7 separate regions of the Homo sapiens genome follow, and regions 2, 3, 4, 5, 6 and 7 are each linked to region 1. Evidence: promoter capture Hi-C in 16 types of primary human blood cells and fetal thymus (Javierre and others, 2016). All regions are on one chromosome and are shown on one strand. The core of a region is centred on a gene start or on the middle of the fragment in contact, and the rest is flanking DNA. Distances in the headings are between cores, read along the strand shown.

Region 1 (3,666 bases), core at 847-3,346:
GAATGGATGATTTCCAGGCTCAGGGTGGGCTGTGTGTTAGTTCTGAGCAAATCCCTCACCAAGACCCTTCCCTCCCAAGCCCTCAAAGAAATGAGGCAAAGCCCTTCCCTGCAAGACCCCTTGTGGATGTTTTTGCATCTACCTGATTTTTAGCCCCACCCAGGGAGACTTTATACCCCATGATCCTGCCCCACCGTTGCTGTTGTCTGCCAGCTGGGTCTAGCATCACAGGGAAGGGGGGGATTTATACTCATGGAAAGACTACTGATCCTACCGGAAACCAACCTGTTTACTGTACTGTTGTAAATATCATGCCCTTTATATCCTGTATATTGGCTTCTTTTAAATAAAGTGAAATGTCTTAGAACTGATGGTGCTTTTTTTTGTTTTTGTTTTTAAACAGAAGATGAATCTGGTGTTGGGGGAGGGGTAGGAGGACGGAAGGCCACAGAAACCCTCAAACTCATTAGTTAATTAGCCATAAAATAGGGGATTTCATATCACCTGTTACATTTGTAGCTCACAATAAAAGCTTTGGAAGATGACAAAGCAGGAATCATTACACACATTTTACTGAAGGGGAAGAGAGGACATGAGACATCACAGGCTCAGTAACTGGCTTGGCCTGGTTTGGAACTGATGTCCTTTTAACCACAAAGCCCCCATTTTTCCAGGCTCTCCAACGTGCCCACAGGAGGTCACCTTCCCAGGCTCTGGATTTGACAGTAACCAATGTTCTAGTTTTTCTTGTCAATGGGCATGTTCAGGGCAACATTGCCCAAATGTGAACTGAGCCCACCTGTCTAGGGTTTTCTCCAAAGGTGAAGACAAATAGCCGCCACCAATTCCAATTTGCTTTTTGCCATTCCTAATACTTGGCATTTAGGTAATCTCCCTCTCCTACTCTTCATTTAAATGTTTACATTCTCCCAAAGTACCTCAAATGGTGTAATCTGGAGAAAAATAAGTGGCTTAAGATCACGGGGGCTTTGTGAGTTGGGTACTATTACTTCCGTTTTACAGATGAGGAAACTGAGGCCCGGAAAGGATATGTAGTCTGCCTAGTGCCCTGCTTGAGGAACCAAAATCAGCATGGGAACTGACTCCTAAGCAGGTGCGCGGTTCATGCTGCTGGAAGAAATATAAACAAATTAGAACAGAGAGTAAGGAAACGTAACATTACTTTAGGAATAGATTGGGTCCCTGAGACCTCGTCATCAGAGAAGACTTCAGAATCCAAGTTTTAAATAGCATTCTAGTGTTTACCAAGCACACAACATTTTGCAAAGAAAGCTGAAATTTTTACTTGGGGGTAAAAGGCTCAGGAACAACTGGTTTTGCGGCCAAAGGCTTTAAATGAAAAGCTAAGCGTTGGCCAGCTCAGGTTTTATCTTGCATTGATCGTAATCTGCAAGGAAGCTAAGAAGCTGGCCGGCCCCGCGCCTGGAGGGTAGGTGGAGAGCGGCTGGGTCCTGGCCAAGAAGCTGGAAGGCAGGCTCATTCCAGGGGCCGCAGCCCCCGGGAAGAAGCAGGGGGCTGGCCGCGCTGTGGCCCTGCGGGGTCGAGGAGTCTGGTAGCGGACAGGTTTCCAGCCTTGTACAAGCCACCGGCAGCCCGAGAGAAGTCAGTCGGACTCCCATCGAACCCGGGGCGCACGCCAGAGGGCCGGACGCAGCGAGTCCTTCTGCCCCGCTTCAGCACGTGTCCCATTTCGGTTATCTCATTGGCTCTATTCAGCCCCTCTCTGCTCCGCTTTGGAAGGCTGCCGCAGGACCGCCCCGCTGATTGGTTCAGAAGCTTTGGTGTGTCACTCTGACTGGTCGACAGAGTTCACGCCCTCTCTCCCGGGTCATACCATAAAGAGAGGAGGGGAAAACGCATGCATTTCAGGACTTCGCTTTCGGGTTCCCTTGTCCTGTGTTGTGTAATGCCCCCGTTATGGCACTAGAAATATTTTTTATTAGCCGAAGCTAAATATAGTGGGACTTTGGCTGATCCCGAGCTCGGAGGACAGCCGGGGTGATCCGTTTCCCCCCGAGGATCGAGGTGGTGCGCTCTGGACGGGGTTGTGCATTCTCGCCGCGCCCGGGCGGACGATCCAGCGAACAGCCCCGCTTCTAACCCGAGATGCTGCTGCCGGCGCCCGCGCTCCGCCGCGCCCTGCTGTCCCGCCCCTGGACCGGGGCCGGGTGAGTGAGCACGGGGCCCGGGGCGGCCCGAGCGCGCGCCTGGGGCCCGGGAGCCTGAGAGTCACTGGGCGTCCCCCGCGCCGCACTCCCTCCCTGCCGGACCCCCAAGCTGCCTCGGTCAACGCCGGGTTCCTCAGGGGCTCCCCTCCGACCCCCACCCAGGCCTTTCTCCCACTGAGATCCCTTAGCCTCCTCCCTCAGGTAGTCACCTTCCTTTAGCGAGGGGACCCCTCTTCCCGAATCCTGCGACCGAGTAGGGTGCCTCGGTGGCCCTGCCGGTTCCCACGCTCGGAAAGTAGCCTCTGTAGTCACTCACCTCACTCCTAATACTGGATCTTCGCAATTTGCTGGCTTCCCCTGAGGGGCCCTTCTATTTTTAGCACACCACACATCTCACTTCCCCACCCTCGTCTCACGTTCAGTGTCCCCATCCCGCCCCGGATTCCCCGAGTCCTCTCCTTCTACCAGGATTTCTACCTCTCTCTTTTCCGCTCCCCACACACCCCGCCGCCCGTTTTTTTTTTTTTTTTTCAAGTTAAATGTTGGACAGAAAAAAGGATTCCTTTCTTCTTGTAGGTGGAATAATCATATTTATAGAGTGCTTATAATGAACCAAATGCTGGCCGGGCAATTGGCAGGTGTCTTATGAGGATTAAATGAGTTAATACATGGGGAGTGCACTGAACAGTGCCCAGCACAAAGGCAGCGCCCGGTTATTATTATTGCCACGATCATCATCATTATCACCTCTATTTAAACTTCTCACTCCTGTGAGGCAGGTCATTATTCCAAATAATGAAGAAACCCAGGAGCAGTTCAGGGGTGGACCTGCCCTTCAAATCCCGATTTGCAAACCTGACATTGTGGAGCCAGGTGCCTGGACCCTTGCCCACTCAATGACAAATATTCTCAGAGCCCCTCCAGCTCGGAGCTAGGTTTGGAGAGGTAGGTGGGACACAGACCCTGCCCCAGAGGGGTTCCTAGTCTGGTGGGGCTGCCCACCTGTGGATCAGCCCCCCCTCCCATTTGAGGTTTGTTTGCTTGACCCCTGGGGCTGTTAGTGGCAGTGTCTTTCCTGATGAGCTGTGCCCTTTCTGAGTTAATCAGTGGCCCTCTCCCTTCCCCCAAGGGATGGCATGGTGGTGCTCTGAGCACAAGTGAGTTGCAACACTGCTGTGTGTCCTCTGTGGGTGAAGAGGGGATAGGAAAGGGCGCAGGAAGAGGACATGGGACAGAGGGGTTCCTCTTCTAGGCTGAGACTGGGGCCACACTTGCCATACTCCCTGTGTGATCCCGTTTGCAGGCCTTCCCTGCACTCTGAGACTCAGGAAGATGGAGCTTATAGAGTCCTGTGTTTACTGAGTGCCTACTGTGAGCTGGTGCTCTGCCAAACACCCTAGAGATGAGGGGTACCCAGGGAATTTACATGGGGTGGGGCCTTTGAGGAGTTTTCGGCTTAATAGGGGAGAAATGCATA
Region 2 (3,628 bases), core at 809-3,308, 500 kb before region 1:
TCAGGCTCCCCTTTTGCTGGCAGAAGAGACCTCAGTTTCTCTCAGGCCTATGAGCTGCCCCATCTGGTAAATAGGTGGAGAGAACAGAGCCGGCAGGGGCCTCCAGCAGATACTCCAGCCCACAGTCTTTGTCCCTGGGTGGCTCACTAGAGCCAGAAGAGAAGGCTCACTAGGACTTGAATCCTGGCCTGGTCACCTTCCAGCTTTGAGACCTTGGACAAGGCACTTCATCTCCCACAGTTTCCGAAAGCCGAATTCATGAGACGGTTGTGAGGATTTGGGGTGCGTGTAAACTGCAGATGTGAGTGGAAGACAGGCACTTAATTGATGCTGGCTGTTGCCTTTACTGCCTTTGTTGGCTTCCTAGGGCCGATTGGCTCACTCCTGGGTTCCACCAGCCTAGAGGCTGTGCCCTGATGCCCTGGGCAGCCTTTTGGGCTGAGTTTTCACAGGTGAACCAAGTCCCAGCCTTGGCTCCCACAGTGGGGCATTTTATAACCCAGTGCACGTTTGCAAGGACTTGGCTTATTTAACTGAGGAAGGAGATTAAGAGGCCCTCCATTGAGGCCTTGTAGATAGTCATGAGAACTTGTCAAGGTAAGGATCCCTGAATGGGAAGCTGAAAATGCCACGGCCCCCCACCCAAAGGCGAGTCATGGAGGTCAGAAGGTGAGCCTCCAGACTTTGGCTGGCTGGTTTCCATTCTGCAGAGATAAGGGTCATCTGACACCAGCTGCACAGTCCGCCCTGGTGAGGGTCTCTCCCCCTCCTCTTCCTGATTGCTTGCTAGGCACTTTTCTTCCTGCTTCTGCTCCCTGAATGAGGAGCTGACCCCGGTTATCATTGGGAAAGTCTTCGGAAGCCCTGGGAGAGAAAGCTAGACAAGAGCGTGGCTGGATGGTCTAAGGCGGCAGGAAGGAGTCTTAGGTTGATCTCAGTGTCCAAGGACAAGCCAGCCTTGCAGCCTCCCAGGTCATCAGACCCCTCAATCCTCAGCCTTCCAGAGGTGCCAGGTCACCTGTGAAACCTGGGTCCTCAGGATCCTTTCTGTCGGTTTCCCAGCTTCCTTGCCATTTACCCTCTTCCTTATCAGCACTGCTCACCTCTTGCTCCTCTTTCCTCTGAATCTCTTGTCCCCTTCTTGAACCTACATCTCTAGTCTCCCCCCAGGTACCCTTTTCCCCAGCTTGAGAGCCCCCCAGTCTATGTGTGAGGGTCCTACACAACCTCCCAGTGATGGGCCTCTGTTCTGTATCTCTGGGCCTCTCCTGGGACTGCTTTCTGGTGGGGAGGCTATTTTAGCAGCTCACCTGCTGCTACCTATTCATGACCCTGATGCAGAAAATGCTTGTGAGGTGCCACTAGCCAAGAAGCAGACCAAGGCTGGAAGTGGAGTCCTCATTTGTTTTGCAGACTTCCTTGGAAACAGATTGGCCATTTAGTGCCCCCTACCACACCTTTATATGCCAGGCCAGAGAAGCCTGTTTTGGTGTATTTGGGAATTCAAATTCTACAAAATTCTTGGTTAGGTGTTTCTAGGCTGTTAGTCTGAGGATGCCTGAAATGCTTGGTTAGGAGCATTGAAGTTGATAGTGGAGTGCCTTGAAATCGAAAGGCACAATCCTGTTCAGCTCTTGTCTTTACCACGTCTTAGCTGTGTGACCACTGAGCCTCAGTTTCCTCATCTGTGAGATGGGCATGACACTAACTTCAAGAATGAGAGATGGGGGGTGTAAAGCTTCTAGCATAGTACCTGGCTTGTAGTAGCTGTCTGCATGGAGTTCTGAGGTCATGTCAAACTTGCGCAAAATACTCTGCTGTTCTCCCGGGTTTTAAGAGATGACTATCGTGTGCCAGGTACTGTTCCAGACCCTTTGCTTATTTAAACTGCACACCACAAGGTTGATCTTTTATGCCCATTTTACAGATGAGGAAACCAAGTGAGGTTTCATGAGTTGGTCCAAGCCTCACAGCTAATTAGTAAGGAGCAGAGTTGGGATCTACCCGTCTGCAAAGCCTGTCTTCTCCGTCACGCTGTTTGTGCCCAAAGCTGCCCCAGGAGTAGCTTTCTCCTTGTCACTGCAGGTCACCAGAGGATGGCTGACTCTGAATGCAGCTGTCTTCACAATTCTTAGCACCGGCAAGAAGTTACTCAGTCTCCGTAGTGGGTAGCTTCCCCCTTCCCACGTTGAAAGGGCGTTCTGTTCTGGCCTCCTGTGGTTAAAGGTGCACTGCTGATGGAGACGGAAGCATCCGTGGTAACAAGCACAAGACCCCAACATCCCAGCTGCCAGCTGCCAAGCAGTAGTGCCGGGGGGAGGGGTGCGTTGGGTTCCAGTGCACCCAGAGGCTTTGCATTGCTTACATAAAGAAGCTTCAGAGCTTTAGAAGGGATGCGTGGGGGAGGAATAGTCCCGCCCTCCTCCTTTTTTGGGTCATTGGCCCTCACTGGGCCGGACACTTCTTATTCACTAATCAGACGGTTTGCGGTTGCCCTTTGCCACATCTGTGGCTGCCTTCCTGGGCCTGTCGAGCTCACAATTAAGGTTCATTAGAGACCCTGTCAGTCATAGCACGCACAGAGCCTGCCTGAGAGAGGCCTTGCCAAGGGGCTGGCCAGCCCCATGCCCCCACCAAAATGAGTCCCTTTGCAAATGACTGCCAACCAAATTCTAGAGGCTTTGTGTACAGGAGAGGGGGTGTGAGCAGCGCTTGTGAAGCTCCAGACTCTCGGGTCCTAATGGGCCCATTGCCTTTTATGTAATTGAAACCTTCAGGCGAGCTCTCGAATTGATGTTCCAGATGGTGGCGGCGGGAGTGCTGTCAGATGGACGCTTTGGAGGGATCATCTGACAGCCGGCCCCTCCGAAAAGAGATTTGGAGCCAAATGCAGAAGAGATTTAATGATCGTTAATCTCCCTCTCCCTCTTTCTGGAATATATTGGGACTCTTAATTACTATTGACTGGAAGCTAAAACAACACTCCTAGTTCAGAACAAAACTCTTCAGGAGATTTGCCCCAGGCTGAAAGGATTATCCTTCATACAAGGGGATTTTTTTTTTTTTTTTTTTTTTTTGCCTCTTTCTAGCTATGTGTTGAACATCAGTTGGGAGTAGAGGAGATATGTACATCAGGTGTTTTAAAGAGGCTTAATACTTCTTCGCCCGCATTGTTTTCCTGTCTCATTGACCTTCCTAGTCCCAAACGCTGCCTGTAGGGGCAGCCAAATCTCCACGTTTTATCTAACGCACTGAAAGCACTGCTGTGTGCTGTAACTGTACTCTTAGCACTGGAGGGCCCTCTGGCTTCCGAGCACCTGCGGGATGCCATGATGCTCACCTCTATCCCCAGACCCTAACACAGTGCCTGGCCACATGTCGATATGGCCACAAATAAATATGAGATAATGAACCAAAAACCCTGCTATCCCCAAATTCTGAGGGGAGTCCACATTAGACATTCTAGGCTGTGTGATCTGAGACCCAGAGATGAGAAGGGACGGATGCCTCTTGGAGCTGAGCTATGACTCAGGAGACCTCAGCCCCTGGGACTCAAGGGCTGGTGGTCCCGGCAGGTGGCAGTATATGGACAGAGTCTTTAAGGTCACGGAGTCATGAGTTAGCTGGG
Region 3 (3,630 bases), core at 1,005-3,504, 270 kb after region 1:
TTGCTGGTGGGTTTGAGGGGACGCCCCAACTGAATGATCAGGAGTCAGGGTGGGGTGATCAGAGGTTCCTGAATTCTTCGCTTTCTGAAGCCAGGGTGACCAGTAGCCTCAACCTCGGGACACCGAGTCCTGGGGGCGAAACGCCCTCCCAGCGGGGCAGGACGCCACAACTGCAGGCCTTTTGTCTCCCGGGGGAAAGAGCGTCTCTGGCCCCACGCTGGAGGCAAAATACAATAAAATGAACCCAGCCCTCAATCTCACCCCCTGCCCGCCCTCTCTCGGCAGTGGGGTCAGCCTTGTCTTAGCCTGGGGCGCTCACCGCTGGCTGGCCCCAGGGTGTCCCCATCCCTCCCCTTCGCCTCACCTGTGACCTTTGCCCCTTGCAGCATGTGACAGATCTCCCTCCTCTCCCCACTCTCCTAGCACAAGGGGCTCATCAGATTTTGGGGGGGCCTTCTGGGAATGGGGGCCCTGATGAAAAACTTGTTGAGCTCATACTCTCTCTAACTGAGAAGACAGATGCCAAGTAGCTTTCGAATTGGAAGGGGGACACCGGGGTACTTTGCCTGGCCCAAGTTATGGGGCCCTCCCCCGGGAGAGATTGGGAGATCAAGCTTTAAGCCATAGCATGTGTGCCCAGGGAAGACAGCAACCCCCTTACATCACCAGCCTTGCTGGGGACCTGGCCTGCTTTGACCTCCATAGGTGGATATATATTCTCTGTGTGTATATATACATGTATTTGTATCATATACACTTATGCATACACACGTATAACACACACACATATATATTAGGTATATTGCATATTCATCCATTCATTCGTCACTAGCTGTCCTCTGCCTGGAAGGTTTCAAGGCACTTCTTCCCTGTATTTGTGGAATGGGCCAGTGTGCTTGCGTGTGAATATAGGCCTGTGCCCGGGTCTGTGTGTCAAGGTGCAGGTGGGTTTTGTGTGTAGGTCTGTTTGGGGTCAGTTTGAGTAAATGTGTGTTTCTAAGTGAGGGTCCATGTCTGTATTTCTGCTTTGAGGTCACCTCCAGGTTGCCTTGGTATGGCTCTAAGCGCGCGTCAGGAATGTGTGAGTGTGTGTTTAGGTCAATTCTCAAGTGAGAAAAGACCTCCAGGGTGTGCCAAGGGTGGGAGGCTCCCTCTCTTCTGGCCAGTGCTCATGTAGCATCTTGAGCTGAGTGGGGCGAGTGCATAGCTGGACACTTCTGCTGCCAGGGACCCTCAGAACCTCAGGAGTCCTGCACTGGGGCCACCTTGCCCACAGTGTGGTCCCTCACCCTCCCTGCAAAAGACTCACAGTAGTGGGTGCAGTAGCGACACAGGCCCCCAGGGTTTCTGCAGCTCCGGGATTCCATGGGCCCTTGCAGAGGGAAGGGTTGAGGTGGGGTTGTCTATTGGAATGAGCGTGGCCGTTCTTGCCTGTTGGAGACCAATTTCACAAATGATTTTTGCAACAATTAAGGAGTGTGGTGGGGTGAAATGGCGATTTCACATCCAGCAGGGGAAAGGGGGGTTCACCTGGGAACTGTGGCTGGGGATGGGGGAGAGCCGCGTCCCCTCCTCTTGTTTCCCTTTGCTTACCCCCTTGTCTAGAAAAAGTCACCCCCATGCAGGCTTAATCAACTCCTAAGACCTCCAGTTGCTGCTGGGAGGGTGTGAGGGCTTCTGAGTGTGTGGGCTGGGCCAGACTTGTTCCAGAAAGTTTTCCTTTAGCCCTTGACCCCCTCTTTCTATCCCTGTCTCTCCTCACCCTCTTTCACCCTCTTTCTCTCTGTCTCTCTCTCACACACAAACATTTTTCCTGTCTCTCTTTCCCCCTCAGTCTATCTTATGGTCTCCTCCATCTGTTTTGTTCTTTTGGTCTCTCTTTCTCTTTTCCTCCTTGCCTTTCTGGCTTCACCCCAGCGGCTTTTCTCTGGGACTGTCTGTCTTGTCACCGCCTCCCCCATCTCCATGGTTTCCTGAGGTATGTATGGGCCTCCATTGCTCTCTGGGCTGTAACTCAGACCTGAATCCCTGGGAAGATCCTTTGGTCCAGATGAGGTTGGCTAAAGACCTTGGGGAAGAGATCCTCCTTCTCTGCTTGGTCTTGGGGTGCATCTCCCGGCCCGGCCCAGCCCAGCCCACTAATCCGCCAGGAATCATTCCCGTCTCAGTGTGGTCTGGCTTGGATGATTGTCTCCTATCTCTAGCTCACCCCGTCTGGTCTGAAATCTCTGCATTCCTCCTTTTCCCTTTTCTTAAAGGCAACAACAATGCTAATAGGAATTCTTCTTCCCAAGTTTCCAAGTGGCATCTTCCAAACCCAATTTGGGTTTGGAAACGGGAGAGAAATAAGTAGGCCCAAGGTACAGAAGCAAGACCCCAGCTTGAGTTTAGCTGGGGAAACTTGGCCTGTCTCTGGCTGCTCCCTCCCAAGACATAGGCCACAAAGAGGCTCCCTCCTCCCTGCATCCAAGTGGCCAACAGCCTCTTCCCTCAGCCCGAGGGAGAGGACGCTCTTTATTTCAGTCCCCTGTGTCATGAGCACTTTTGGAAAGTGATTACCCAATAAATATTCCTTTAAAGGGTGATAAATCCACCTTGAAAACCAGGGGTTTTTATTTCATTGGGGGCCTTTGCATTTTCAGAGGCTCTGGCCTGCTCTGCTAGAGGAGGCCAAAGACATCAACAAATGGAATTACTCAGTCTTCAAATGTTTGATAATGAGAGAGGAGGGGGTGGGCGTGGGGGTGGGGAGGGAAACTGAACATCCAGGAACAAAGGACTCTCAGGAGTCTCCTTCCAGGTTTCGGAGGCTGGAATTCCTCAGCGCTACATTTCCAAGAGGCACCGACCTTTTATTATTATGCTTTTCTTTTAAGAAGTGGCACTCTTCTAGGGGTGAGCTTGAAATAATCTGCCCAAACCTGAATAGAAACAAAAAGGAAAGTTGATAGCTTGCTTGACATTTTCATTTTCCCCAGAAAAATGGAATAGTATGCACTGGATTCCAGTTCTCAAGAACTGGGCAAGAACAACATCACTAAAGATACAACAACAGTAATAATAACCAGGTTTCTCTCAGGCCTACTGCTAAGTGGGCTCTCGAGTGAGCCTCCTCCCTTTTTTCTTCCTGGTCTTCTTCCTTCCTCTCCTTCTCCTCCTCTTCCTCTCTTCCTTCACCCTTTCTCTTCCTCTTCCTTCCCTTCCTTTTCTGTTTTCTCTTTCTCCTCTGTTTTCTTCCTCTTCCTCCCCTTCCTTTTCTGTTTTCTCTTTCTCCTCTGTTTTCTTCCTCTTCCTTCGCCTCCTCCTCCTCTACACCTCTTTTTTTTTTTTTTTTTTTTTTTTTTTTTGAGACAGGGTCTCACTCTGTCACCCAGGTTGAAGTGCAGTGGTGTGATCTTGGCTCAGCGCAGCCTCTGCCTTCCAGGTTCAAGCAATTTTCCCACCTCAGCCTCCCGAGTAGCTGGGATTACAGGGACCCCCCACCACACCTGGCTAATTTTTGGATTTTTAGTAGAGATGGTGTTTCACCATTGTTGGCCAGGCTGGTCTCGAACTCCTGACCTCAGGTGATCCAACCACCTCAGACTCCCAAATTGCTGGGATTACAGGCATGGGGCACTCTTCACCTCT
Region 4 (3,765 bases), core at 294-2,793, 350 kb before region 1:
ATTTTGGCTGTAAGTTACTGTCTGCTTTCACCCCCACTGTGAGGCATGCACTCTTAGCCCCATTTTCTCATGAGAAAATGGAAGCTTGTAGAAATAACTTGCTCAGCTAGAAAGGGATGAGCTTGCAGGCCCGTGCTCTTGGACTCTAGGCTGTGACCTTTTGGCTCCAGGGCTGCCCATACCTCTCTTGAGGGCGGTGGGCAGGCCCAGCTGCCTGAGCTGTGGCTCCATGGAGTGGGGGAACTGCTCCAGGGGCCCTGGATCCAGGCTCACAGTGAAAGCTGCTTTGTTACCAGCTCGGGCGTAGTCCATTTCTGTGTATTTCGTGAACCACCTAAGGGAAAAGAGAAGTGGTAGGAGGAGATGCTCCTGGCCACGCCACCAGCCCATGAGTCAGGCTCCCCCAAGTGTCCCGTGGCCCTGGGCCTTCCCCCATCACAGACCTTGGCTGCTGGCCAGCAGCCAGCCCAGAGCACCATGCTGGAGAGGACAGAGAGGGCTGTGGTCCCAGGCCACTAGCTCAGTGACAGGCTTCCAGGAGCAGTTCCAACTTGATGCCACATATGGAACGAAGTTCCTGCATCATTCCCTCCCTGAAATCCCCTCTCACCCGCCTCTTTCCCTCCGTTCCTCAGCAGTACTTACTCATTCACCTCCTCCTTTGTGCGGTTGGTGAACAGGAGACCCACCTCACCCCTCAACCTTTTGCTGACCTACAAATCAGGAGTGAGGACAGCTTGGTCACATTAGAGCAGTGGTTCTCTACTAGGCACGTTTTTGCTCACCGGGTACATTTGGCAACATTTAAAGACGTTTTTGGTTGTCATAGCAGGAAGGAGTGGGAGGCAGGAAGCTGCTATTCCTTGGGTCCGGAGGTGAAGGGAGAACCCAGAGCTTTAAGCCAGGCCCTGCTCTCCCTGAGCCTCCGGCCTGCCAATGGCTGGGGGAGGCTGTCACATGGGAGTAGTGGGAGAGAGGGCGGCTTTGCCTTAGCTCCACCCCGTGAGGGCCAGAGACTTACCTGGTGCAGGTTGTCTTTGTATTCATCAGATGGGCTCCGACCCAAGGCCACCATCATCACCTTGTTTTTGCCAAAGAACATCCTACCAAGCAAGAGAAAGAGCATTCTGTGAAGGAAGAGCCCTGCCCTCCCCATCCCTCAGCAACATGCAAAGTAGCTCCGGTCCCCAGTGAGCTCAGGCCCAGGCTGAGCCAGTGGCACCCACTTCTCCATGCTGCCTGGCCACACTGTCCCCACGTTGGGGTCCCTTTCATTATGTTCCCACCCACAGACTCCTGACATGGCAACATTTTGTCTCCCAGCCCATCACGAGCATCATGTACCAGTTCTCTATCTGGATGTATGCGGGAGGCATGTTAACAGCCTGAACCAGAGCTGGTGCGGCAAGAGACCACCACCAGAGCCACCTGCCCCAGGACAGAAACTTGCCATGTGGCTCCTGCATCCTGCTCCCAGGTCACTGTCTGTGTCGCAGTGTCCCTACTGACATTCTAAAACTGGTGTGATGCTCCTAAATGGCCCACAGTCCAGGGTTAAAGGGCCACTTCTCCGGAAAGGCCCACCTCTCAAACATCTCCTGAGCAACTGCCAAGTCCTGCCCCTAGGAGCTCAGTGCAAAATCTGCTTTTTGAGGTGGAGTTTCACTCTGTCACCCAGGCTGGAGTGCGATGGTGCAATCTCAGCTCATTGCAGCCTCTGCCTCATGGGTTCAAGTGATTCTTCTGCTTCAGCCTCCTGAGTAGCTGGGATTATAGGTGCCTGCCACCATGCCCGGCTAATTTTTGTATTTTCAGTAGAGAAGGGGTTTCGCCATGTTGGCCAGGCTGGTCTCAAACTCCTGACTTCAGGTGATCCCCCTGCCTCAGCCTCCCAAAGTGCCAGGATTACAGGCGTGAACCACCGCACCCTGCCCAAGACCAGCTTTAACAGTGAAAAGGAAGTGCTCTTCAGTGGCAGGTAGCACTTTGTCCTTATTAAGGTGTCAGCGGCATGACCCAGGCACCTAAAGGGTCAGAAATTGCTCCTGTGCTTTGACTGAGAGCAGCCTGGCCGGGTCCCCACTCAGAAGGGCCTTCCTCCCCCTGCCCGCTCACCGGCTGTGCTTCCAGGCGTTCCGGATGTCCTTCAGCTTGCTGTTCCTCATGTTGGCCACAGAGAAGATGAAAAGGTACTTGTAGGTGTCCACACATTTCCGAAGCTGTGGGACAATTCACGAGGCTCTGAGTTCAAGCAGCAGCATACAACGGGCACTACTCTGGCCTCAGATGAGAATGAATCTGCTCTGGGCCCCTGACAACTATGGAAACTGGAAGAACTGGAGGCCTCTAATTTGGTTGTCTCCTACCTCCATTACTGAAATTAGGATCCCTAACCACAGGGGAGGCTGAGCCATGGATCTACACCCCACGGCCTTTTCCAGGTCTCTCACTTATTTATGACCAACAGTGGAACTGATCATCAGCTGTTAACCTAGAAACATTCACCCACATTAGGAAGGGTCCTGCTACATGGAAACACATGGAGCCTCTCTGTTATAAGGGGAGGCAGCTGATCGGTACTGCTCTGCACGTGGTGCTGGCCAAAGCCACCATGAGGCAGCCTCTAGGAGTGGAGTCATTGTGCAGGAGGAGACTGTTTCACCCAGCCTGCAGCCCAGGTTGGCAGGTCAGAAGCTGTACAGACAGTGGGTTGGTGCAGTCACCTACACCTGGTAAATCTCCCAGCTCTTTTTTTTTTTTTTTAAAGACAGGGTCTCACTCTGTTGCCCAGGCTGCGTACCACCACGTCCAGCTAGTTTTTTTTTCTTTTCTTTTTGTAGAGATGAGGTTTTGTCATGTTGCCCAGGCTGCTCTTGAGCTCCCAGACTCAAGCTGTCTGACCCACTTGGCCTCCCAAAGTGCTGGGATTACAGGCGTGGCCCACCATTCCTGGCCTCCTGTTTTTTGACATTAGGCAGGCTAACAAATCTCTGTAAGCTTCAGTGACCCCAAATGCAAAACAGCAACATCATCACCTAGTACCCACATCACAGGGATGTTATGAGGATGGAGTGGAACAACGCATAAGAAACACAGTGCAGGACAGGGCACAGAGTACGAGCTAGTCAAAGCTGGAAATCATCACTATGGAAGTTTTTGCTGGTGCTGCTGCTGGAGGAAAAAGGCCTGGATTGGCAGCTTGGAGATTTTTTTTTTTTCCCCACTAGTATGTTCCCCTGGCCAACAGTCCTATCCCTGGCCAACAGTCCTATACCTACCTTTATAAACCAAACAATTGCAAGCTCTAGAAAAGAACAACCTCTTACCTCTTCTATCAGGTTTTGTTTCAATTCCAAGCCTTTCTTGGCAGTTTTGGTTAAGGAGACTAATAAAAACAAAAAGGAGAGAGATGATGAGAGACCAATCTAAATGCACTGGAGACTTATTTTCTTCTCCCCTTTGGCAGAGAGCACTCAGCTGGATGCAGCCATTCTGAAAAAAGGCAGCAAGGCCTTTGTGGCCATCATTTCTGGCACACAAAGCCATTCCCAGGGCCCATGGAATGCCTACTCATTAGCATTCCTGGGCCTGAAGATCCCTGGATATAACTCCTGCTATTTAGACAAACTAGGCCTTTCTTAGCTCCTAAGGCTGACCCAAAAAACTTGATTGCAGTGTGGGGGTGGAGGCTGTTCCTGCTGCTAGAAGTGCTCTCAGTGGCAGACCTCACCTGCTGGCTGAGGCAGGCCCCTGTTTTTTGTTTTT
Region 5 (3,335 bases), core at 1-2,500, 340 kb before region 1:
AAAACTAGTGCCTTCCTTAGTCCAAAGGAAATATGGGGACATAAATGAGAGCTTCCCCATAGATAGTAAGAACAAGCAGCATGGGATTTAAGATTGACCTGTGCCTGCGTTGGAGGTAGGGAGAGTTCTGTTTTCAGCTGTAGATGCAACTGAGGCCTCCCTCTGCTCTTAAATGCCTGACCATTCTGCTCCAAAGTGGGGAGCACTTTCAACTCTAAGGCCAAGGGCCTTCCCTGGAGAGGTGACCCTCTGTAAGGCAGCTGGCTAGTACTGGTCCCATTTAGGAGCTGATGCCTTGCTTTTCCCCCAGACTGCCCTAGTGAGCTTTGCCACCACTGGGGAGAAGACGGTGGCTGCAGTCATGGCCTGTCGGAATGAAGTGGTGAGTATTGAGAACAACAGTCAGCACTTGGGATTTTCCTTCCTGGTCTCCACTAGGAACCCTGAAAATCAGAAGTCTGGGCACATTGACCTGGTCAGTTTGAACCCAGCGGGCAGGAGGCTGTTGAGAAGTGAGGTCTTGCCTCAACTATAGAGCTTTCTGCACACCCCATTTCTCCCCAGGAACGAGACCCTAATGTGATGACCTTACTTTCATATGGGGCTATTAAGGGTTGAATAGGCTTTGTGGGCAGGGGTGAGAAATGAGCTTTGTCTTCTCTCAAGTGCTAAGAAGACAAAAACAAAAGCTTCATTTCAGTGACTGGGAAGTGACCCTTTGGCTGAATTTTCTCCTGTCCTTCTCTTTCTCATAGCAGAAAAGTAGCAGTTCTGAAGATGGGTCAATGGGGAGCTTTTCGGAGAAGTCTAGTTCAAAGGTATGGTGTGGCACTGGGCAGTATGCCAGACCTAGAGACGCAGGAGGCCACCAAAGAGAGTTGGGGGAAGAGCTTTGGTTAGGAGCAGGTCCTAGAGTTCCCAGCTTCAAATGAGGTTTCCTAAGTACTGTAAATTAAATGATGTTTCTCTTAATCTCATTTTACCGGGAGATTAGGAGGTAGAATCCCTAGAGTCTGTTTCTAGCCACTTTCTCCTCTGGGCCTCAGCGTCCCCATTTCTTTTGGGATCCTGGCTGGCACAGTTGAGTAGTACTCTGTGCAGTTACCCTGTAGCAGAGGCATGAGCCCCTGGCTGGAGGCATAGGTTCCTGCTGTGGCTTCCATCTAAGCGTTTCCCTGCCTCCTGTCTTGCTCAGTCTTACCTTGCTCAGCCCTACCTCTCTCTCAGAAGTCTCTGCTACTCTGTACTGGCTTCCAAGACAAGTATGGTAGTTGTAATTTCATTTATTTACTCAGGCACCTTATTTCTGCCTTAGGATTTAGCTTGCTTTTCTCTTTTATTCTCCTTTGCATATATTTCCCCTTCTGGCCTGGCTCCTTCTCTAGGGTATTTGCCCCCAATCCTTGGACTTCCTTTGGTGGGCTTTGCTTTCGGGGGATACCTGTAGTTGACACGTGCTGTCTGTACTCCTAGGACTCTCTGGCTTGCTTCAATCAGACCTACACCATTAACCTATACCTCGTGGAGACAGGTCGGCGGCTGCTGGACACCACGATAACATTTAGCCTGGAACAGAGCGGCACTCGGCCTGAGCGGGTAAGGCAGAGCCTTTCTTTGCAGACTGTCCTGTGGGCTTCTCAGCACATGGCTTCCTTTCCTCAGGGCCAGGTCTTAGCCATGGGGCTTGGATTAGGCTCTCTAAACATGTGTTCTAGTGCTCTCTGAGCCACTGACTTGTTAGAAGTCACAGTAAAGGCGGGTATTATTTATGCCAGCTCATCATTGTGCACCAGGGACTGTTCTAAGCTTTTAACTTACACATTAATTGATTTAACCCTCCAAACACTCTCATGAAGCGGTTGTTCCTGACCTGGTTTTAAAATGATTCTGTGGCCTGGTGGGATCGAGTACCATAGCCAGAGTCACGGAGCCAGTAAGAGGTGTCACTGCGGTTCAGATTCAGGTCTAACCCCACAGCCTGGACTCCTCATCACTACCCAGTATTGCCTCTGTGTGCATCTGGTTGTGTTCCTCAGCTGCTTGGGCTGTGGCTTCTTCGTTTCTAAAGCGGAAAGTCTAATCCCGGCCTCCTGCTCACTTTGTGGGGTGTGATTAGAGCATGGATGAATGGCGTGGTACCCGTGGAGTACTCAGGTTCTTCCATGGAAAGGTCTGGGAGACCCCAGCATCATTATGTTGGCTCCTAAGAATATGTATCACTTACTGGCATCCAGATAATAGCTACATTGTTTAGACATCAAATAATGCCATGGCCTGTACCTCTGTTAAGTCCAGGCTTTGACTCCTGGGGTCTGGTGCTCTCAGAGGCATTTGGATCCTCACTGACTACACCGGTCTTGACTGTGGCTTATAGCTGTATATCCAGGTGTTCTTGAAGAAGGATGACTCAGTGGGCTACCGGGCTTTGGTGCAGACAGAGGATCATCTGCTACTTTTCCTGCAGCAGTTGGGTAAGTAGACCTCATTCAACCCATTTTTTTATTTCCCCAGGCCTTCCAATGTGTTCCAATCAGACTGTTTTTTGGGAGGCTGCAGGTTTCTGGAAGAGATTCAAGTGGAGTGTGCCCTGAGTGTTTCGTTCATAGCCAAATGTCACCTGCTTTTTTTTTTTTTTTTTTTTTTTTGAGATAGAGTCTTGCTCTCTTGCCCAGGCTGGAGTGCAGTGGCATGATCTCGGCCCACTGCAATCTCCACCTTTCGGATTCAAGCGATTCTCCTGCCTCAGCCTCCTGAGTAGCTGGGATTACAGGCGTGTGCCACCACGACCAGCTAATTTTTGTATTTTCAGTAGAGACAGGGTTTCCCCATGTTGGCCAGGCTGGTCTCGAATTCCTGACCTCAAGTGATCCGCCTGCCTCGGCCTCCCAAAGTGCTGGGATTACAGGTGTGAGCCACCGTGCCTGGCCTGTCACCTGCTTTTTTTTTTTTTTTTGAGACGGAGTTTTGCTCTTGTTGCTCAGACTGCTGGAGTACAGTGGCATGATCTCAGCTCACTGCAACCTCTGCCTCCCAGGTTTAAGTGATTCTCCTGCCTCAGCCTCCCAAGTAGCTGGGATTACAGGCATGCACCACCACGCCTGGCTAATTTTGTATTTTTAGTAGAGATGGGGTTTCACCATGTTTGTCAGGCTGGTCTCAAACTCCTGACCTCAGGTGATCCACCTGCCTCGGCCTCCCAAAGTGCTGGGATTACAGGTGTGAGCCACCGTGCCTGGCTCTTTTTTTCTTTTTTGAGACAGAGTTTTGCTCTTGTTGCCCAGGCTGGAGTGGAATGGTGTAATCTCAGCTCTTTGCAACTTCTGCCTCCTGGTTCA
Region 6 (3,349 bases), core at 768-3,267, 270 kb before region 1:
TAAAGCCAGCAGCTGTGTGCTCACAATAGCTTGCAAACAGTGTGAGTAATGTCCCAGAATGGGAATCTGTTCCAAGGAGAAATTAATGATTATGATTTGATGGGATATTTTGTCAATCATGAGGATAAGTGATAGTGTATAGGCAGTAGGAAAAAATACTTTAAAAGTAAGGAAATGACTCTCTTTCTTTCTTGATGTCAGGCATGTGACGTCCTTTTCTCCAAGCTTGTCAAGTATGATGAGCTTTATGCTGCACTGACAGCCCTGCTTGCAGCTGGGTCCCAGCTTGATACAGTTAGGAGAAAGGAAAACAAGAATGTAACAGCCTTGGTAAGACCATGGAACCCTGAGAAGTCTTTGGGTTGTGTTTGATCATTGATCATTTCTATCAGAAATTTCCTTCTGAAATGTAACCAGTTTATTGAATATTGATTTGCAAAACTGACTGATACTTGAGTATTTCTAGGTAGTTTGTGTAGCTATGTTCACCTTAAAGATAATTTAATCAGCTGTTGCATTTTTTTGGTTACCATTGAGAGAACTGTAATTTAAGAGTTAGTGGTCCCCCCCCAAGTGCTATATCTCCTGTCAATACTGGTTGATGTGTGATATTGAAAGCCTCACGCTTGAGATTTTTCCATGGCTCTGTTAATGTGTCTCTATATTCTAGAAGCAATTCCAGGCCACAAAAACGGATAGCTGATTGCAGGTCTGCTAAGCAGAATGTCCTGCCCTCTTTTGGTTAATTGGTAAATTATTGGGGAGCCAAAGTTGTCTTGGAATAGCCTTTTTGGTCTGTGAAATGTGCAGAATACGGAACAAATTATTTGTATGTGTGTTCTGCCATTTTCTGCTAGGTGCACTCTCTAGAAAGATCTGGAGAATGGACTTGGGGGCCAAATCTCAATTTAAAATCAGGACTCTATACAGTTCTGGTTTAAAAGTTGTATTTGGAGTAGTTCGTACTGTGAGGGAGATCTTGAGGCCATACCAAGTGCTACCTCTATGCTGCTTTTCCTTTCTCCAGGAGGCCTGTGCCCTTCAATATTACTTCTTGATACTGTGGAGGATCCTAGGAATTTTACCACCATCAAAGACTTACATTAACCAGCTATCCATGAACTCACCTGAGATGAGCGAATGTGACATCTTGCACACTCTGCGATGGTCTTCTCGGCTCCGGATCAGCTCCTATGTCAACTGGATAAAGGTAACACAGAGCTTGCTGCTAAGACTATTCAAAGCCAAAGTGCTTTGTGCTTACTGGAGCTTTTAAATTTGAAGATAATGAAAGCTTTGCCTATAGTCATCTCCTAAACACTTTTTCTTGCTGTCCAAATAGGATCACCTTATCAAACAGGGAATGAAGGCTGAGCATGCTAGCTCGCTTCTAGAACTGGCATCCACCACTAAGTGTAGCTCAGTGAAATATGATGTTGAAATAGTAGAGGAATACTTCGCTCGACAGGTATGTAATATTGGAACCTAAATGATAGAACTTGGTTTCTACCATAGCCCATTGCCACAGCTAATTATATTTTGCATATTTTTAAAGATCTCATCCTTCTGTAGTATCGACTGTACCACCATCTTGCAGCTGCATGAAATTCCCAGTCTGCAGTCCATCTACACCCTTGATGCCGCGATCTCAAAGGTCCAGGTCTCTTTGGATGAGCATTTTTCTAAGATGGCTGCTGAGACTGATCCTCATAAGTCGTCTGAGATTACCAAGAACCTACTTCCAGCCACGCTGCAACTCATTGACACCTATGCATCGTTCACCAGGTGTGGCGAACTGCCTGCCCAGAGATGCACATGCACTCTTCACTCCGTGCAGATCCCGCATTGACTCAGAATTTGACATTTTTCTCTTTCTTCAGCTTAGGGGTTTTTTTCCCCACGTATAATGCTTTCTTCTCTAGTATGAAGGGGTGCTTGATGAGGAAATTTTCAAATAGTGCAGGAGGAGTCAGGAGGAAGTTTAATGTCTATAATTCTTTAAATATTTTGTACGATTTTACTCGTAGGATACAGAGAAAGGTAATTTTTCAAAACACTGTCATTTCTGTTATTAACTGAGTTAAAGCTCCTTAAATGCTCTTTATTTATTATTATTAAAAAAATTTTTTTCTGAGATGGCATCTCGCTCTGTCGCCCAGGCTGGAGTGCAATGGTGCGATCTTGGCTCACTGCAACCTCCACCCCCTGGGTTCAAGTGATTCTCCTGCCTCAGCCTCCTGAGTAGCTGGGATTACAGGCATGCACCACCGTGCCTGGCTAATTTTTGTGTTTTTAGTAGAGACGGGGTTTCGCCATGTTGGCCAGGCTGGTCTTGAATTCCTAACCTCAGGTGATCTACCCACCTCAGCCTCCCAAAGTGCTGGGATTACAGGCATGAGCCACTGTGCCTGGCCCTTAAATGCTCTTTACATGTGATGATATGTAGTTGGAGAAAAAAAAAAATCTCTAAATGAGTTAGAAATTATTTGAAATTCAACTCTTTCTATAACAAACACTGCAAATTGCATGCCCTGTAGACTTTGGTCTGTATGATGTTTAAATATTTAAAGTTAATTTCAGTATATAAAATTGGGAGATTATTCACAAGTTTAGATTTCTGGCTTTTCTTAAATTGGAAGAACTGGCAAAACTGGGCCTGACTTCCCAAACAACAGTAACAGACTGGAGCTGAGAATTAGTTCCCTTTGCAGCAGTTTTCACCGGGCTCTCTTAAGCTTATTGACTTTATCTGGTCCCTGTAGGATCTCAGTGTTCACTCCTGTTCTATGGTGCTTTTTTGTTTTGAGATGGAATCTCACTGTGTCACCCAGGCCGGAGTGCAGTGGTGCGATCTCATCTCACTGTAACCTCCACCTCCTGGGTTCAAGTGATTCTCCTCAGTTTCCCGAGTGGCAGGGATGACAGGTGCATACCACCATGCCTGGCTAATTTTTGTATTTTTGTATTTTCAGTAGAAATGGGGTTTCTCCATGTTGGCCAGGCTGGTCTTGAACTCCCGACCTCAGGTGATCCACCTGCCTCAGCCTCCCAAAGTGCTGGGATTACAGGTGTGAGCCACCGTGCCCAGCTCTGTGGGCTTTATGCTGCTTTAAAGGGACCTAGATCTTTGTCAGACTTAACTAACCTTGTCTCTTAGTATGACTGCCTTGCAGAAGATAGAGGGCTGTTGTTTGAGGCAAATTTTTTTTTTGGCTCAAATTTGTTTGAGCCAAACAAATATGTATGGCTGCTACGTGCCAGGTACTTTTCTAGGTGCTAGGGTTATGGCAGTAGCCAAAGCAGACCAAGTCATTGCCCTCTGGGAATTTACAGACTCTAATCTGGCCTA
Region 7 (3,667 bases), core at 652-3,151, 300 kb before region 1:
AGTATTGTCTAGTGCAAGCTTGTCCAACCCACAGCCTGAGGACCATGTGATGGCTTTGAATTTGGCCCAACACAAATTCATAAACTTTCTTAAAACATTATGAGATTTTTTTTTTTGCCTTTTTTTTTTTAAAGCTCATCAGCTATTGTTACTGTTAGTGTATTTTTTGTGTGACCTAAGACAATTCTTCCAGTGTAGCCCAGGGAAGCCAAAAGATTGCACACTCCTGGTTTAGTGGTTAAGAGCATGAACTCTAGAGGCTGACTGCCTGGATTTAAACCTAGCTATGTGACTTTTGTCAAGTCATTTAGTTAGCTCAGCTGTTAAAAATGGACAGGGATAATATGAATATCTGCCTCATAGAATTGGTTTAAGAATTAAATGAGTTAATACCTTTGAAGTGCTTGGCACTGGTGTGATGTAAGTATTTCCTATTATAGTTATCCTGATTTCTAGTAAATATGAGATAAATTGATCTGGTAGTTATTGATGTCAAAATGCCTTTGTTTACCCCTTGGGTTTTTGGCTCTGAATAATTGTTACGATATTGGGAATGTTGGACATAGAGCTCAATACTTACTTTGCTTAATTTATTGACCAACGCTGAGCAGTCTGAAATTGAGTAATGTTTATTACTTTCTCAGTTCCCCGGAACCAACTTCAGTCAGTGGCAGCAGCCTGTAAAGTTCTAATTGAGTTTTCTCTCCTGCGTCTGGAGAATCCAGATGAGGCTTGTGCTGTGTCCCAGGTGAGAGTGATGGGCCCATTTCTTGCCCTATTCTGAAGCAGTGTTGTGACTGACTAGTGGAATAGAGTAGAGGTCAGTGAACTTTTTCTGTAATAGGCCAGATAGGAAATCATTTGCAGGCTGTATGTTATCTGTTGCAGCTAGTTAACTATGCCTTTTTAGTGTGAAAGCAGCCATAGATTAATATATAAATGATGAACATGGCTGTGTTCCAGTAAACTTTATTTACAAAAACAGGCAGTGTTTGAATTGGAGCTGTAGTTTGCCAACCTCTGGTACATGGGGCTACAGAGTCTTCTCAAGGATTGCAAACTTACATACCTGCAGGGGCCAGGTAGGTAACAGAAAATGAGTAAAGTGTGCTAGTTGAGAAGATTGCAGGTCCCAACTAAAGGGGCTAACCACTATTTGGCTCTGGGTTATTACTGCCATGCAGGAATGGAGGTGCAAGGTTGCTATACTGTGAATTATTTGAGCGTGAGAATTTCAGATTTGCATGTGAATCTTTTCATTCCCTTCAAATTTTAAAAAAATATTGTGAGAACAATAAGACAAATCTATAAGCTACATACGGTCTAAGGACATCAGCTTGCAGTCTTTGCTTTAGTGTTTATATGAACCTAAATTTGGCCCTGTGCCAGTTAGAATTTCCAAAAGAGTAGAATTTTCTGAAAGATCTATTTGTTTTTGTTTTCTTTTGTTTGCATTTGTTTTCTTTTCAGAAACACTTGATTCTCCTAATCAAGGGCCTGTGCACTGGCTGTAGCCGACTAGATAGAACTGAAATTATCACATTTACAGCAATGATGAAATCCGCCAAGCTGCCCCAAACAGTGAAGACACTTTCAGACGGTGGGTGTTCCTTTGACAGATCTGATCACATGACCACCCCCATGGCACCTTTTCCATGGCACCTTTGCCTTCTAGTGGCACTTTCCTCAGCCCTTTTTTTTGCCTTTGTATTTTACAGTGGAAGATCAGAAAGAGCTGGCCTCACCAGTAAGCCCTGAGTTGAGGCAAAAGGAGGTACAGATGAATTTTTTGAACCAGCTGACCTCAGTTTTTAACCCTAGAACTGTAGCATCACAACCTATCAGTACACAGACTCTGGTGAGTTTCTTTAGTCAAATGTCTTCTTCTCTGTGGGTTTTGTTAAGATGATAACACTAGGGGAGAAAAAGTGATGTATTTTATGTTTGTGATATAAAATGATATACATGTCTGTGGGACAAAAGAAATTGAGGAATACAAAATAAAACAAGTAAAATTCACCCCAACTCCTTCTTCTGTCCACGGTTATTACTGTTTTGACGACCATTCTAGGCTTCTCTCAATGCAAATTAACAAATGTAAGGTGTATGTACAGTTTTCTATATAAAGGCATCACTCCATTTTGGTTATAGAACATATATATATTTTAAAGCTGTATATTTTTTCCCTCCTCCTGAAAATGTAACCTGTATTTTCTCCAACATGAGTAAGGAATTTTCCCTTCACTAACTGGGGAGTCTGGAGAGTATCCGTGCAGCTACTGCTCACTTTTGACAGTTGGTTTGGTGAAGAGATAATAGTATCTTGACAGGCCTTATGTTTCTTTTCAGGTGGAAGGAGAAAATGATGAGCAGTCATCTACAGATCAAGCCTCAGCTATCAAAACCAAGAATGTGTTCATAGCTCAGAACGTGGCTAGTCTTCAAGAGCTTGGTAAGACTCCCAACTGTTATCAGAAAGCTGATTTCTGGGCTGTCAAAAATTCCTTAAGTGTGCTTCTGTCATATGGATAAGAATCAAGCATCAGACAAAGGCCTGTTTGTAAGGTTGTGGTTTTCATTCATTTAGGTGGCTCGGAGAAGCTACTGCGTGTATGTTTGAACCTGCCATATTTCCTACGCTATATCAATCGGTTCCAAGATGCAGTTTTAGCTAATTCCTTCTTCATAATGCCTGCAACAGTAGCAGATGCCACTGCTGTTCGTAATGGGTAAGGTGCTTCACAGTGCACATGCTTTACTTTTTTTGTTTTTGGGACAGGGTCTTGTTCTGTCACCCAGGCTGGAGTGCAGGGGTGCAGTCTCGGTTCACTGTAACCTCGTCTCCTGGTTCAAGCAGTTCTCCCACCTCAGCCTCCTGAGTAGCTGGGACTACAGGCACACACCACCATGGCTGGCTAATTTTTGTATTTTTTGTAGAGTCGGGGTTTTGCCTTGTTGCCCAGGCTGGTCTTGAACTCCTGGGCTCAAGCAATCCTCCTGCCTTGGCCTCCTGAAGTGTCGGAATTATAGGCGTGAGCCACTGTGCCGGGCCCATGCTGATAATTTCTTTAACTGTCACATTATAGAAGTGAATGATTCTAAGAGACACTTGTTGATCTCTGTCATGTTCCAGCTTTCATTCATTGGTGATTGATGTAACTATGGCATTGGATACCCTTTCTCTACCTGTGTTGGAACCTCTCAATCCTTCTCGTCTACAAGATGTGACAGTCCTCAGCCTAAGTTGTCTGTATGCAGGTGAGAAGTTATTATATCTGGTCTCATTTTCTCAGTCAAGCAGAGATATACTTTCAGGAAACCATGAAAATCCTCCTGAATACTCTACTCATCCCCCTTGCTTCCTTCTCTCAAGGATCATCTAACGTCGCATCAAGGTGAAATGAGGTCTCAATAGGAATCTTTGTAAATGGTCCTGTTGTTTCACTGCTGCCATTGCGTTATAGGCATATTTGATTTTATAGTATGTGCAGATACTAAATATTTACTATATGAAAAGCAAATTGCCTAAGACTGTTGAGATATTGAGATGAACTACATGTAGTCTCTGCCCTCAAGGAGCCTACATCTGAGCAGCAGAGAACACATAAAGCTAAATAGTATAATATAAAACAGTATTAAAGGCAATAGAAGTATAGAATATTTTCGG

The links. The method cuts DNA at HindIII sites, captures the fragments that hold promoters and counts their contacts. A CHiCAGO score of 5 or more calls a contact.
Region 2: a fragment that was not itself captured here is called in contact with the fragment with the promoter of ALDH4A1 in region 1 in 1 of 17 cell types (fetal thymus); the score reaches 8.1 in fetal thymus.
Region 3: a contact is called between a fragment that was not itself captured here and the fragment with the promoter of ALDH4A1 in region 1, in 1 of 17 cell types (fetal thymus). The highest score is 5.5, in fetal thymus.
Region 4: a contact is called between a fragment that was not itself captured here and the fragment with the promoter of ALDH4A1 in region 1, in 1 of 17 cell types (fetal thymus). The highest score is 12.6, in fetal thymus.
Region 5: a contact is called between a fragment that was not itself captured here and the fragment with the promoter of ALDH4A1 in region 1, in 14 of 17 cell types (fetal thymus, megakaryocytes, neutrophils and 11 more). The highest score is 15.1, in fetal thymus.
Region 6: a contact is called between a fragment that was not itself captured here and the fragment with the promoter of ALDH4A1 in region 1, in 1 of 17 cell types (fetal thymus). The highest score is 7.4, in fetal thymus.
Region 7: a fragment that was not itself captured here is called in contact with the fragment with the promoter of ALDH4A1 in region 1 in 1 of 17 cell types (fetal thymus); the score reaches 6.3 in fetal thymus.

What each region holds. Positions count from the first base shown.
Region 1 is chr1:18,900,985-18,904,650 of GRCh38, reverse strand. It overlaps ALDH4A1 (aldehyde dehydrogenase 4 family member A1), which reads left to right and starts at 2,096. Exons shown (of 15, transcript NM_003748.4): 1 at 2,096-2,189. The coding sequence starts at 2,128. LOC124903866 (a long non-coding RNA gene) reads right to left here and starts at 2,538. Exons shown (of 2, transcript XR_007065519.1): 1 at 2,399-2,538; 2 at 1,280-1,841. IFFO2 (intermediate filament family orphan 2) reads left to right here. Exons shown (of 9, transcript NM_001136265.2): 9 at 1-371. RefSeq lists enhancers at 1,043-1,860, 1,800-2,029 and a silencer at 2,110-2,329. The HindIII fragment of the contact is 9,883 bases long and covers 1,800-3,666 here.
Region 2 is chr1:19,404,991-19,408,618 of GRCh38, reverse strand. The region is part of intron 2 of CAPZB (capping actin protein of muscle Z-line subunit beta); the gene reads left to right. Among named protein-coding and RNA genes, the nearest start is that of CAPZB, 79 kb to the left of the region's middle. The HindIII fragment of the contact is 636 bases long and covers 1,741-2,376 here.
Region 3 is chr1:18,626,320-18,629,949 of GRCh38, reverse strand. No RefSeq gene overlaps it. Among named protein-coding and RNA genes, the nearest start is that of PAX7, 2.7 kb to the left of the region's middle. The HindIII fragment of the contact is 3,276 bases long and covers 617-3,630 here.
Region 4 is chr1:19,254,402-19,258,166 of GRCh38, reverse strand. It overlaps MRTO4 (MRT4 homolog, ribosome maturation factor), which reads right to left. Exons shown (of 8, transcript NM_016183.4): 2 at 3,327-3,385; 3 at 2,116-2,219; 4 at 1,022-1,103; 5 at 646-713; 6 at 183-334. Among named protein-coding and RNA genes, the nearest start is that of MRTO4, 4.5 kb to the right of the region's middle. RefSeq lists an enhancer at 3,407-3,765. The HindIII fragment of the contact is 2,913 bases long and covers 87-2,999 here.
Region 5 is chr1:19,236,278-19,239,612 of GRCh38, reverse strand. It overlaps EMC1 (ER membrane protein complex subunit 1), which reads left to right. Exons shown (of 23, transcript NM_015047.3): 9 at 311-382; 10 at 756-818; 11 at 1,474-1,596; 12 at 2,375-2,471. The region is part of intron 1 of EMC1-AS1 (EMC1 antisense RNA 1); the gene reads right to left. Among named protein-coding and RNA genes, the nearest start is that of EMC1, 14 kb to the left of the region's middle. The HindIII fragment of the contact is 1,117 bases long and covers 692-1,808 here.
Region 6 is chr1:19,171,300-19,174,648 of GRCh38, reverse strand. It overlaps UBR4 (ubiquitin protein ligase E3 component n-recognin 4), which reads left to right. Exons shown (of 106, transcript NM_020765.3): 22 at 202-330; 23 at 1,028-1,210; 24 at 1,343-1,468; 25 at 1,556-1,785. Among named protein-coding and RNA genes, the nearest start is that of UBR4, 37 kb to the left of the region's middle. The HindIII fragment of the contact is 1,441 bases long and covers 1,297-2,737 here.
Region 7 is chr1:19,196,732-19,200,398 of GRCh38, reverse strand. It overlaps UBR4 (ubiquitin protein ligase E3 component n-recognin 4), which reads left to right. Exons shown (of 106, transcript NM_020765.3): 3 at 645-748; 4 at 1,471-1,600; 5 at 1,719-1,858; 6 at 2,350-2,452; 7 at 2,588-2,729; 8 at 3,134-3,258. Among named protein-coding and RNA genes, the nearest start is that of UBR4, 12 kb to the left of the region's middle. The HindIII fragment of the contact is 3,762 bases long and covers 21-3,667 here.